2 separate regions of the Homo sapiens genome follow, and region 1 is linked to region 2. The links are contacts of gene promoters, found by promoter capture Hi-C in human tissues and cell types (Jung and others, 2019). All regions are on one chromosome and are shown on one strand. The core of a region is centred on a gene start or on the middle of the fragment in contact, and the rest is flanking DNA. Distances in the headings are between cores, read along the strand shown.

Region 1 (5,635 bases), core at 2,613-5,112, 220 kb before region 2:
TTCTAGGCTTTCAGCAGTCTATTATATGTTGCAGCCAAAATGTAATCTTTTGCTTCAGGCATCTGCAGGTTTTTTTTGTTTTTGTTTTTGTTTTTGTTTGTCAGCCTTATAATGTTTATAGAGTACTGTCTGCTACTTTTCTGGCCTGGGTACATTCTGCCTTAAGCAAAGCAGACTGTCTTGCATCAGTCCTTTGAATAGCCCTGAGACAGATTAGAGCAGACCTACACAATAATTTGAGAATGATGTCTCCTCTGCCCCTTCTAGAAAGAGGGACCAGGATCCACGATAGAACGTGGGCTGACGTCTTTAAGACTGCTGCCAAGCCGGGACCAGGGCAAGGAGTAGTAATGCCACACAGCTTGCCTGTATCATATTTTTTTATTGTGGTAAAATATACATAATAAAGTTTACCATTTTAGTTATTTTCATTAATAAGTGTACAGTTCAGTGACATGAAGCGCATTCATGTTGTGGTGCAACCATCACCAGTGTCCATCTCCAGAACTTTTTAATCAACCCAGACAAACTTCTTTAAACAATAACTCCTCATTCCTGCCTGCCCCAGTCCCTGGTAATCACCCTGCAGTCAGGAGTTGCCCTCTTCTTGATTCAGTGTTCAGTTGTTGCTGTAAACCTTTGACTGTTTTCTGGAGTTCTGACAAAGTTGGTTCTGACAGTTTCTGCTTGTTTTTTGGTATTTCTGTGAAGCTGCCTACCCTGCCATTTTGCTGACGTTACTATTAATGCCAAGGTTTTTGTTCTGAACACCTTGGAAGAAGAGAATGGCTATTAACTGAGATGAGAAAGACTGGGAAGATCTAATTTGGAGAGTAGAATATCAAGGGCTCAGTTTTGGATATATTAAATTCAAGATGCCACTAGATATCAAGGAGAGAAGTCAAGTAGACAGAAAAGAAAAGAGGTCTCAGGACTGAGCCTTGGGGTGGTAAGGACCTGGGGGTCAGGAAGATGAGGCAGAACCAGAAAAGACCGAGCAGAAGTAGCCAGAGGATGGGAGGTAAAGTTGGAGATTGTGGTGTCTCAGAAATAGGTAAAGACAGTGTTTTTGCTGCTAAGTCAAGTAACATGAGGACTCATGGAATTTGCCATGTGGAAGTCATTGGCAATCTTGGGAAAAGCAGTTTTGGTGGAGTTGGAGGAGAATGGGAGGAGAGAATTGGAGACCAAGAGTACAAATAATTTCATGAGTCACTGTAAAGAGGAGCAGAGAAATGGGGCAGTTGCTGGAAAGGGAAGTGGGATCAAGAATTGTTTGTTTAATGTAAGAAATTGGGATTCCTGATGGGATTGATCCAATGGAGAGGAGAAAGTTTGTGATGCAGGAGAGGAGAGAATTGCTGTTGCACTGTCCTTGAATAATGGGAGGGGACAGAATCTAGTAGAGGTGCTGGGTTCATCTGTTAGAAGAGGAAGAAGCAGGTAGGTAGGTAAATGCATTTGCTTCAATTTTATGATGGCTCTCAAATACACATCTGCAATTGCTCTCTTCTTTGAGCCAAAACTTACTTCCTTGGGACATCCCTGACTGAATTTTTCTAAAAGTACGTCAGCCTCAAGTTGTCCCAAACAAAGATCAACCCCTTTCCTTTCAACTTACTCTCTCTGCTTGTTACTCCCTATCCTTGGCAGCCCATTCATGCTGAGAAGAGGAAGGGTCAGTTTTTTCAGTAAGGTGGAAGCATCAAGAAAAAGGCAATTCCAGAGCTGAGGCTGGAAGATGGGTAATTTATCATGTGGAGAAAGGTGGGGAAGAATGAGACAGGCAAAGCATCAATGGTGGGGAGGGACACTGAGCTTGGGTTGGGAGGTGACTGGGGGCGGTGAGCTCAGAGCAGTCATCTAGAGGCTGTTACACTCCCAGATGCCAACAAAGCATTGTCAGGGGTTGTGGAGTTTCCCATAGGTTGTTATGTAATCCAAAAGGCTACTTGTCTTGAATTTTTCTTCCATAGCATTAGATTGTTGTTCTGCCAGAAGAACCCTGCAAGCTGCTTCCACCTCCGGGCCTTGTGCCGGCTCTTCCCTCGTCATGCAGTGCACTTCCCTCTCACCCATCATCTCCGTGGTCACCTCTTGGGACACTTCCCCAGAGTCTTTCTCCCTTAGCCTCCTCATCTGTCTCTCATTTATGGCTTTTCTCATTTGTTATCCCAATTTTTGCTCTGTGAGGGTTTTCCTCTGAGGGTTGAATTAATCTCATGTCCTTAGAACAGGCCCTGGCATGGAAAAGGCATCAATAAGTTTGTTGATTGACTATATAGAAAAAAAACCCAAACCATCTTGGTCTTAGGTCTCTGCCCACAGGTGCACAAATGCTTACTAACAAGCAAAGCCCAGAAATAACCTCCTTTCAGGCTGTTTTTAGATGAGGATGTTATTGTTGTGAGACGCGTGTGTGTCATCCATTCTGGACTCAGGAGACAGTGCCCATCTCTGCTGTCATTTGTTCTGTCACTTCAAAGTGCAGGAAAACCATGGGTGGTGATTTTAGAATCTTATTCAGAACCCTCAGGGAATGAGTCATTGTGCACTGACGACTTTTCCGGATTGCTGCCGTTCAAATAAATCAAGCAACAGGACATTATTGTTGTTGTTATTGTTGTTAATTTTAACTATTTTTGATGGTAAATTTCAGAAATGTATTATCATACTTTCCTCAGTATGATTCTACCATCTCGTTTCTTCAGAATCATTATGATGAGCATAGTTATAATAATTTTTCAGCTCAGCAATGAGAATACAGAGCTTTGCTGGCCTCTCCCTGGAGCAGATCCGGACCACAGCCCTAACTGTACGGTGGAGGGAGCTGAGCTGCCCCCAGAAATCAGAGGGGTAAGTCAGGGAAAGAGGCAGGCCCAGACCCCAAGCACAGGGCCAGTGAGTCCCAGGCTTCAAGTGCACCAGAGTCCCCTAGGGATCTTGTTAAAATACAGGTTCCGATCCAGTAGACTCAGATTCCTCTGTGGGCTGGGATCGGAGTTCTGCATTTTTAACAAGAACCTGGGCAATGCTGGTGCGACCAGACCACAGACCACCCTTTCCATATCAAATCTTTCTGTATCAAGTTGACCTCCCAGAGGTTTTCTTGTGATCTTGAGTGGATTTTACTGGGAAGCTTATCTTTCTCTGGGGCTTCTTACATGTACCAGGTGGTCTCTGGTGATAATAATTCCTCTAAAGTTTATAAAATGGTCACCTATTTCTCTTCATTCTCACAATAATCCTAGGAGGTAAGTTAGCACCCTTTTACCGACTGGGACACCAATTCCTGACATCACAGGGTTCCCAGGAGGTGGAGGCAGAGCTCATGGCTCTGTGTCTAGTGCGCTTCTCATCCCTTTCTGCTGTCTCCCCTTATATCTGTGCTCTGTGCCGTATACAGCCTTGTGGACTCTCAAGGCCGTGGGAGTGCTGTGGGGAAAATAATTGTGTGTGTGCACACATGTGCGTGCCTGTGTTAACAGGAAAGGCTGATTAGCAACAGCTGTAGCACGTGAGGCCCATGTAGTCTCACTTGGGACACCCTGGCAGAGACCAACGTTTCCTCTCTGCTCCATCTCCCTGTACCCATGAAGCCCTGGCATCATATTGTATGGGTGAAATATTGTGTCACAAGCAGCAGCGGTCCCTGCAGCACGTGCTGAGATGCTGTAGCTGCCCCACCTTCACCCCTTCTCATTTGGGGGCAGGCTGGCTGGACTTGATCTGCCAGCATCTGCTTCTCTGCCTGATGCCTTTCTCTGACCACTGGGGCTACTTTGCCCTGTACAAGGCGCTGAAGTGCTGGGAAATTAATGCCCCTCAGTCAACCAAGGGCTAATGGAAGCTGATGTAAAATAATCGAGCTCTCCTAATTTAGGATAACTCCGTGGCATTTTCCCCCACATTAAGCCTCAGTTACTCACCGTGGTGACATGCTTGATAATGTCTCACTTCCCCACTCCCATAATAGTAGTTCCTGGGATCCCTTCCTAAAGGAATGACTTGCACTCAACTCCTTGTCTCAGGGTCTGCTGGAGGAGGCCAAATTAAGGCACTTCTCCCAACCACTCTTTCTACTAAGTTACATCTGAACCCATATACCTGACTTTCCTCTCATCACAGTGGAGAAGTATTCCAGTTCCTGGTGAATTCAGACCCTCCATGAGGGGCCTAGATCGCATCCTTACAGCCCTCTCAAGATTTCCCTCTTGATATTATTTCCCTTCTCTGTGGCATCATCTTTCCTTCTCCCTCTCGCTTCCCTCTTGTCTCACTTTTCTCCTCCTCCTCCGTCTCCCTCTCTTCTAGAATACACCAACCTAGAAACAGGCTTCAAGATGACCCCTCAGGCCATAGTCTTCTGTTTCTGGGCAATATGGAGCAATAGTGACTGGATTTTTCTCATGTGCCTGAAACAGCCATAACAATAACAACACCACCACCACTATATGACACTGTGGTTTTCAAGACACTGGGCCTCAAGCAACAGCAGCCAGAAGATGGGAAAGAAGCAGGGTGAAGAAGTCTATGATTGCCCTAGCACAAGAGGGCATCATAGGGAAGAGCGTAGGGAAGAGAACCCAAGTAGAGCCTGCTGGGCTCTCTGAATTGAGAAAACTGGACTAAGAGTCCAGAGAGACCAAGGTAGTTAGAATGTCCAGGGCAAAGTAGTAAAGGAGAGAACTTCACAGAGAACTCCTGAGATTTGCAGTGATCCATGCATGCTTGTGAAGAAATATACAAGGCTAAGGGAAGCACCACCGGAACTAGAGGAAATCATAGCTAGTGCTCACACAGGGCCAGAATAGTGCCTCTTCCGACCAGTCAGTCTGGAAAACCTCATGCTTCACAAGACATTGAGTACGTACTCTGAAGGGTTTTGCCTCAGTAGTGGGGAATAGTAAGCCCTAGACTAACTGCTGCTCTAGTCCTTCCTAACAAATCTTAAAAGAAATACCAAAATGATCAAACTGTTTCCAAGTGACTTAACTGCATCTCAGAACAAAGTGCAAGAATATTTATAGTAATACAAAAATGTCCAACACTCAGCAAGGTAATATTCATAATTACTATCATCAAATAAAAAATTAACAGGCTTGCAAATCAATTAAAACTGGCCCAGGATTGACACAGATGTAAAAACTGGCAGGCAAGAACATTAGCACATTTATTATAGCTGCATTATATATGTTCAAAAGTTAAGTGGAGACATGGAAGATATAAAAAAAAAGACTCAGATCAAATTTCTAGAGATGAAATCTCTAGACTTCATTTACTGAAGTGGACTTCTTCCACTGAAGTCTTGAACTCCTCAAAGTCATCCATGAAGACTGGAACCCACTTCTTCCAAACTCGTGTTAATGTTGATATTTTGACCTCCTCACATGGATCACAAATGTTCTAAATGGCATCTAGAATAATGTTCCTTTCAGGAAGGTTCTTAATTGACTTTGCCCAGATCCATCAGAGGACTCACTATCTGTGGTAGCTATTATACCCTTACAAAATGTATTTTGTAAATAATAAGACTTGAAAGTTGAAATTACTCCTTGCTTTATGGACTGTAGAATGGATGTTGCGTTGGCAGGCATGAAAACAATCTTGTACATGTTCATCAGAGCTCTTGGGT
Region 2 (5,264 bases), core at 462-2,961:
GGTCTCTCTCCCATCTAGGCCAGGAGCCTTTAGAGAGGGGAGGGAATGGGAGGGTGGGAAATGGGAGGGGCCCGACTCCTCTCTATGGGTCCCAGGGGTTGTGGAGTTGAATCCCTGCAGCCCTTTTAAGCCCAACAGTGAGGAAGACACTGGATACCAAAGGGCCCATGGTGCCATCCCAAAGACTGATAAGGAGTGTGAGCTGGATGATCACAGAAGGACTCCTAGTTCTGAAAGCTGGGATTCTAATCAGGAGAGGACAATGAATGGAGAGGAGAGACGGGAGTTCTCCCTGCTTCCACACATATGAGACCAGGCTCCTAGCCTTTTCTCTGCACATTCCTAACTGGCAGGGTCCACAGGTGTCAACCCAAGTGCATCCCCAAGACCACACAATGGCTCTGAGTGCAGAAAGGACCTGCAAGACCAGTTTGTTTTCTGGGCAGCAGATGATTTTGCTGGCCTGAGGCCTGGGGCAGTGGTCTCCACTCCTACCTCACCACCTCTCTAGTGTCTTCCTTCTTCCCCAAGTAGACCGGCATGCATGCACACACAGGCCCAAGCAACTCCTTTTTTTTTTTTTTTTTTTAATGAATAAGAAAAAGTAATAAGGAAAGAAGCAGCAAGCAGACTGGGTGTGTTAACAAGTCTGGGCCACTGCAGGAGGTACATTGCCCAATTTCTGCACCCCGAGGCCCTCCAAAGTCTAGGAGAAGCTCCTGGGAGGTCCAGGGCCCAAGACCAAAGCCTCTATCAACTCTCCCACCTGTGAACTGCCCCTCTCCCAAGGTAGGCATTGTCGGGGTGTGTAGACTGGGAGCCACCCACACACCTGACTCTCCCCTCCTAGGAAATGCGTCCACCAGGTCATTTCTCCTGCAAACCCTCATTTTAAAGTGTCTTGGATGCTTTCCTGCCCTTTTTTTTTTTTTTTAACATAAAGAGGGGTGAGAGCCCAAGAGCTACAGCAGGGGGAATAGACTGAAACTGCTGCCTACTCACACGCCAGTTTCCCTTCTTAGAACTCTAACCAGAAGCCAATGGTTTCCTCCTAAAAGAAAAACTCAATCTGTTGACTTTCTCTCTCCTCTCCTGCCAGCTTTTCTGCCCGAGCCGGGCTCTCTCTTCTCTGTGGGTTCGTCTTTCAGCCAGTCTTTCTCTGCTTCAGATTCTTGGTTTCTTGCTCCCGGTAGTCCCTGAACCTCTTTCACTCTTTAAAAAAAAATGGGGAGGGGCGGTGAACAAGCAAAGAGGAAGCCCTCACCCACCCACCAAATCTCTTTCTTACTAGCAACTAATTCCCTCTCTCTTTCCACACACACAGTCATACACACACATACACATACACAGGCACGTACTCCGGCGACCTCCAGATGTTCCCGACAGTGCGGCCATCTGCTTAGATTGCTGGGGCGCGCAGGGGGAGGGGGCAGGGATCCGGGATGCAGGAAGCTGTGAGCGAGGCCAACTAGAGGGGGCGGGAGCAGCGCACTTTTGAGACGCTCCCTAGAGTGGAACCCGGGCTCGGCTCAGGCTCCGCGGGCGGGGCGCGCGCCGAGAGAGGCTGGCACTTTGGCGACACTCCCTGAGCCGCCCCGCGGCCGGCCCGAGCCGCCACCCGGCGCCCGGCAGGGGGGAGCCTGGCTGCGGGCGGGGACCGGGGGGCGGGCCGCGCCGCGCGGAGAAAAGCGCTGGCCGGAGGGCCCGCGGCCGGGCCGCCGGGGTGAGCGTGCCGAGGCGGCTGTGGCGCAGGCTTCCAGGTGAGTGCAGTTCCCCGGGCGGGGCGAGAGTCCGCGCTGCGGTTGAAGATCCCAAGTCCCCGATCCTAGCCTCGCGGCCCCTTCGGAGGGCGGGCTGGGGACGCCGGGCGCAGGGGCGGGGCTGGGTCCCGCCGAGGCCCCTCAACTTTCGTCGGACGCCTAGGGCTGGGCGGGAGTGGGGAACGCCGACCCAGGGGAGAGGTCTTGCGGGAGACAAAGGCTACGCCCAGGGGCCGTGTGGGTCTTTGTGCGGACACGTGCATCTCACGTTTGTGGGTCTTTGTGGATTTGCGGTCGGGGACGCGCCGCTGTCGGTGCCTTTGTGTGTCCGTGGCTTTGCGCGGCTGCTTTGCGCCCGTGTCCACGTTTGCGGGCCTGCGCTTGGCTGTGGGCGTCGGTGGGCGCATCGCGTGTCTCCGCGTACGTGGTCGGTGCCTGCCGACGTGTCTGGGCTGGGTGTCCGCAGAGGGTGTGCGCACCGAGAGCCCAACGCCGCCCCACCCCCCCGCTCCCCCGCCGTCCCCTCGGGCCCACGACTTGGCTCCAAACTTTTCTCCCGGTTCCTCGGGCAACAGCCCCAGTCCTCCCCACCGCTACCCGGCCGGGGGCGCAGACAGCCCTCCCCCTCCCCCTCCTGAGGTCCCAGGACAGCAAGGGGCTGCGACGGGATTGGTGGTCGGGGGATCGGCAGCGCCTGGGGACTGGCTGGGCAGGGGCTGGGCGGAGCGTGCGGACTCCCCCTCAGACCCCGGCTGGGAGGAAGAGGCGAGCGGTGGGTCCCAGGCTCCGGCCCTGGGCTGGGGAGAGGAAGGGACAGGGCGGCTGGCGTTGCCCTCCCCGCGCTTCTTGGAAAGAGTGTGATCCAGAGTTGCGTCTGTTTGGTAGGGAGACAGGCTCCGCTTTGAGACCCACTCTCCGTTTGCAGCCCGCCCCCGGGGTAGGGGGCCAACCCTCGGACCCGGTAGGGGAGAGGGGGACTGCCAGTCCAGATCTGGGCATGCCCGAGGCGCCGGCTCACAGGACCCGGAGCTGGGCTGGGGGCCGTGGGAGCCTCACATACACAGGTTTCAACTGGGACGGCCACTGGCCCCTGTGCGGCGCTGGCAAGTTGCTCAGCTTCGCGGAGTCGCGGTCACTCTGGCACGGACAGGGCGAGAACTCCCTCGCGGCTCGGGGCGTGCGGTGGGAATAACCCGCGCCTCTGGAGCCGGGCGGAGAGCAGCGCCAGCCCACACTTGGCCTGGCGAGGAGGTGACTCAAGACCTTCGATTCTTCTTTCATCTTTGTGCGCCCTGCCCTTCGGATAAGTCTAGACTTGCAGTGCCTGGGGCTGACCGGAGGTGGGGGGGGGGGGGTGCTCAGAGCTGCAGGAGCCTGCTGGGCTTTTGAGCCTAAGTCGCAAAGATAACCGTAAACACCCTCCTCCCCACTGCTCACTCCAGTCTTTAACCTAGAACTTTGTCGGATGCTGCAGACATGATGGAAGGGCACAGGCCGCTAACCTGGGAAAGAAACAACTGTGGGCATTTTCCTTTCCCTCTCCGGCCTCAGTTTCCCTTCTGGAAGGGGAGGTATTGATAGCCTCTTCTGTTCTGGCTGACTGCTTCAGATCCCAGAACCCAGAAACACTTTGATGTTTAACCTACACCTCCATTCTGACCTGACCTATTCCGAGGCACTACTTTGCTCCCCAGGAAGGCTGCAATGCAACCGCCACCGGGCTTCCACCTACCCTTCCTCCAACACCAGGAAAGGCAAAAGCTGATAAATGAGTCAAAAATGGAGAGGGAAGGGAGGGGGATTGACCTTTTCTCCTCTTACTTTTTAAATGACAGTTTGTGGTGGTAAAGTCCAGATCAGTCTTCTTCTTAATCATAACTCCTGGGTCAACACAGGGGATGCAGTTAAGAGTTCATGCTTCAGTTTTCAGAGCAAGGCTGGCCTGGGCACTGAGGACACTTCCTAAAGAGGGTTGGGTCCTCCCTGAAAGCCACCTGGCCAAAACAAGTCCTAAGAGGGGTTCTGTGGGAATAACCCGGAGAAGGGGCCTGACAGGAGATTCCTCCTGCTCATGGTTTTGAAGTCAGTGGGTACACAGGGGAGGCAGGAAGAATCTCCCACAAAAGGATCAGCATGTGCAGGACCTGTGCATGAAAACAGCACAGGTGGTCAGCATGGTGGACCAGCAGACGCAAGGTCTTGAGGGTGGTGAATTGGAAGTGAACTTGAGGCTGGGAAGGCAGGGACCAAATCACCAAGGCCTTGAATGTCAGGCCGAGAAGGGGGATTTGAGCCTGTAGGCAATGGAGAGCTCCTGGAGGATTTAAACAGGCACAGCAGGGTGCGGTTGGTAATTCTATGAAACCCGTCTCTGGCTTGTGGGTGGTGCTGGAGGCCGAGAGACCAATCTGGAGGGCGAGTGATCCAGCCTCTTAGAGTCAAAGGGACCCAGATTTTACTCCCACCCCATTGCTTCCTACCTCTGTGGCCTGGGACAAGTAACTTATTTAAAATGTGAGGATACTAATTCTTGCTCCACTGATTTGGTGTATTAAATAAGATAATGAATTACATGTGCAAATAAATAAAAAGTGGTTTGTAGTGTGTATTACATTGTGCAGACATTCATTGGATTGCACTGACAATAGAAGGCAGAGACAGCATTGACTCTGGTCCTAAACCTGATCTCACCAGCGGGCAGAGCCCTAAGCATCCTGCAGGGTTGCACCAATTGTTATGTTCCCCACAAAGCAGAAGGGAGCTTTCTGTCCATGACATTTCATTCATCTGATTTATCACCTTCATGTGGCCAGGCTCGTGCAGGCAAGGAGGTAGACACAGATTCGTAGATGGCCACAGAAGTGGGCCAGTACCTTGTCGGGGGCAGCCCAAGGGCCATGGGCGCTCACAGGATGGGTGGCCTTTCCTGGATGAGCGGCAGGTTAGACTGGGAAAGCCTCACAGAGGAGGTGGCTTTTTGAATGAAATGTGTGAGAGTTTGCTGGTAGACAAAGAAGGGTATCTTTGCATCAGAGGGAACAACGTGTGCAAAAAGGCAGGTGGCTCTAGAAGAGTCACAGGCCTCTAGACTAGAAAGCTGTCTCTGTGGGATGGGTTTTAAAGAGGGAGCTGTAGTAGGGTCCCAGACTTCTGTTGGGAAGTGCGTTCTGGTGCCAGCATGGCTGGCAGTTGGAGTCAGGCCAGGAGCGAGGCTGTTGCAGCAGGTCTCTTGAGCCTGACCTGGACAGGGGGAGGTGACTGCCCAGCTTAGGGATGAGGGAAAGGGAAGACAGTGACCCCAACTGCCCAGGGGGATCTGCGAATTTGATGCTGAGCCCTCATTCTGTCACAGGCAACACAGCAGCTTTTGCCTGCTTTGGTCTCTGAGACCTTTCCAGCTCACCCTTCCCAGTCTCCTGGGAGTGCCTTGTCAGCATCTTGTAGCCACACTGGGATCCTGGATGGTATGTGGAGAGAGGATCCAAGGCCTCTGGGATGAATTGT

Evidence for each region. Contacts are between HindIII fragments. The study calls those that stand out against the background at their distance.
Region 1: a fragment that was not itself captured here is called in contact with the fragment with the promoter of TSKU in region 2 in 1 of the 25 tissues and cell types used here (neural progenitor cells).

What each region holds. Positions count from the first base shown.
Region 1 is chr11:76,557,935-76,563,569 of GRCh38, forward strand. No RefSeq gene overlaps it. Among named protein-coding and RNA genes, the nearest start is that of LINC02757, 70 kb to the right of the region's middle. The HindIII fragment of the contact is 4,663 bases long and covers 1,532-5,635 here.
Region 2 is chr11:76,781,645-76,786,908 of GRCh38, forward strand. It overlaps TSKU (tsukushi, small leucine rich proteoglycan), which reads left to right and starts at 1,712. Exons shown (of 2, transcript NM_015516.4): 1 at 1,712-1,760. It overlaps TSKU-AS1 (TSKU antisense RNA 1), which reads right to left and starts at 1,418. Exons shown (of 2, transcript NR_120562.1): 1 at 1,359-1,418; 2 at 937-1,212. RefSeq lists enhancers at 949-1,138, 1,373-2,017, 4,405-5,264 and a silencer at 1,569-1,658. The HindIII fragment of the contact is 14,629 bases long and covers 1-5,264 here.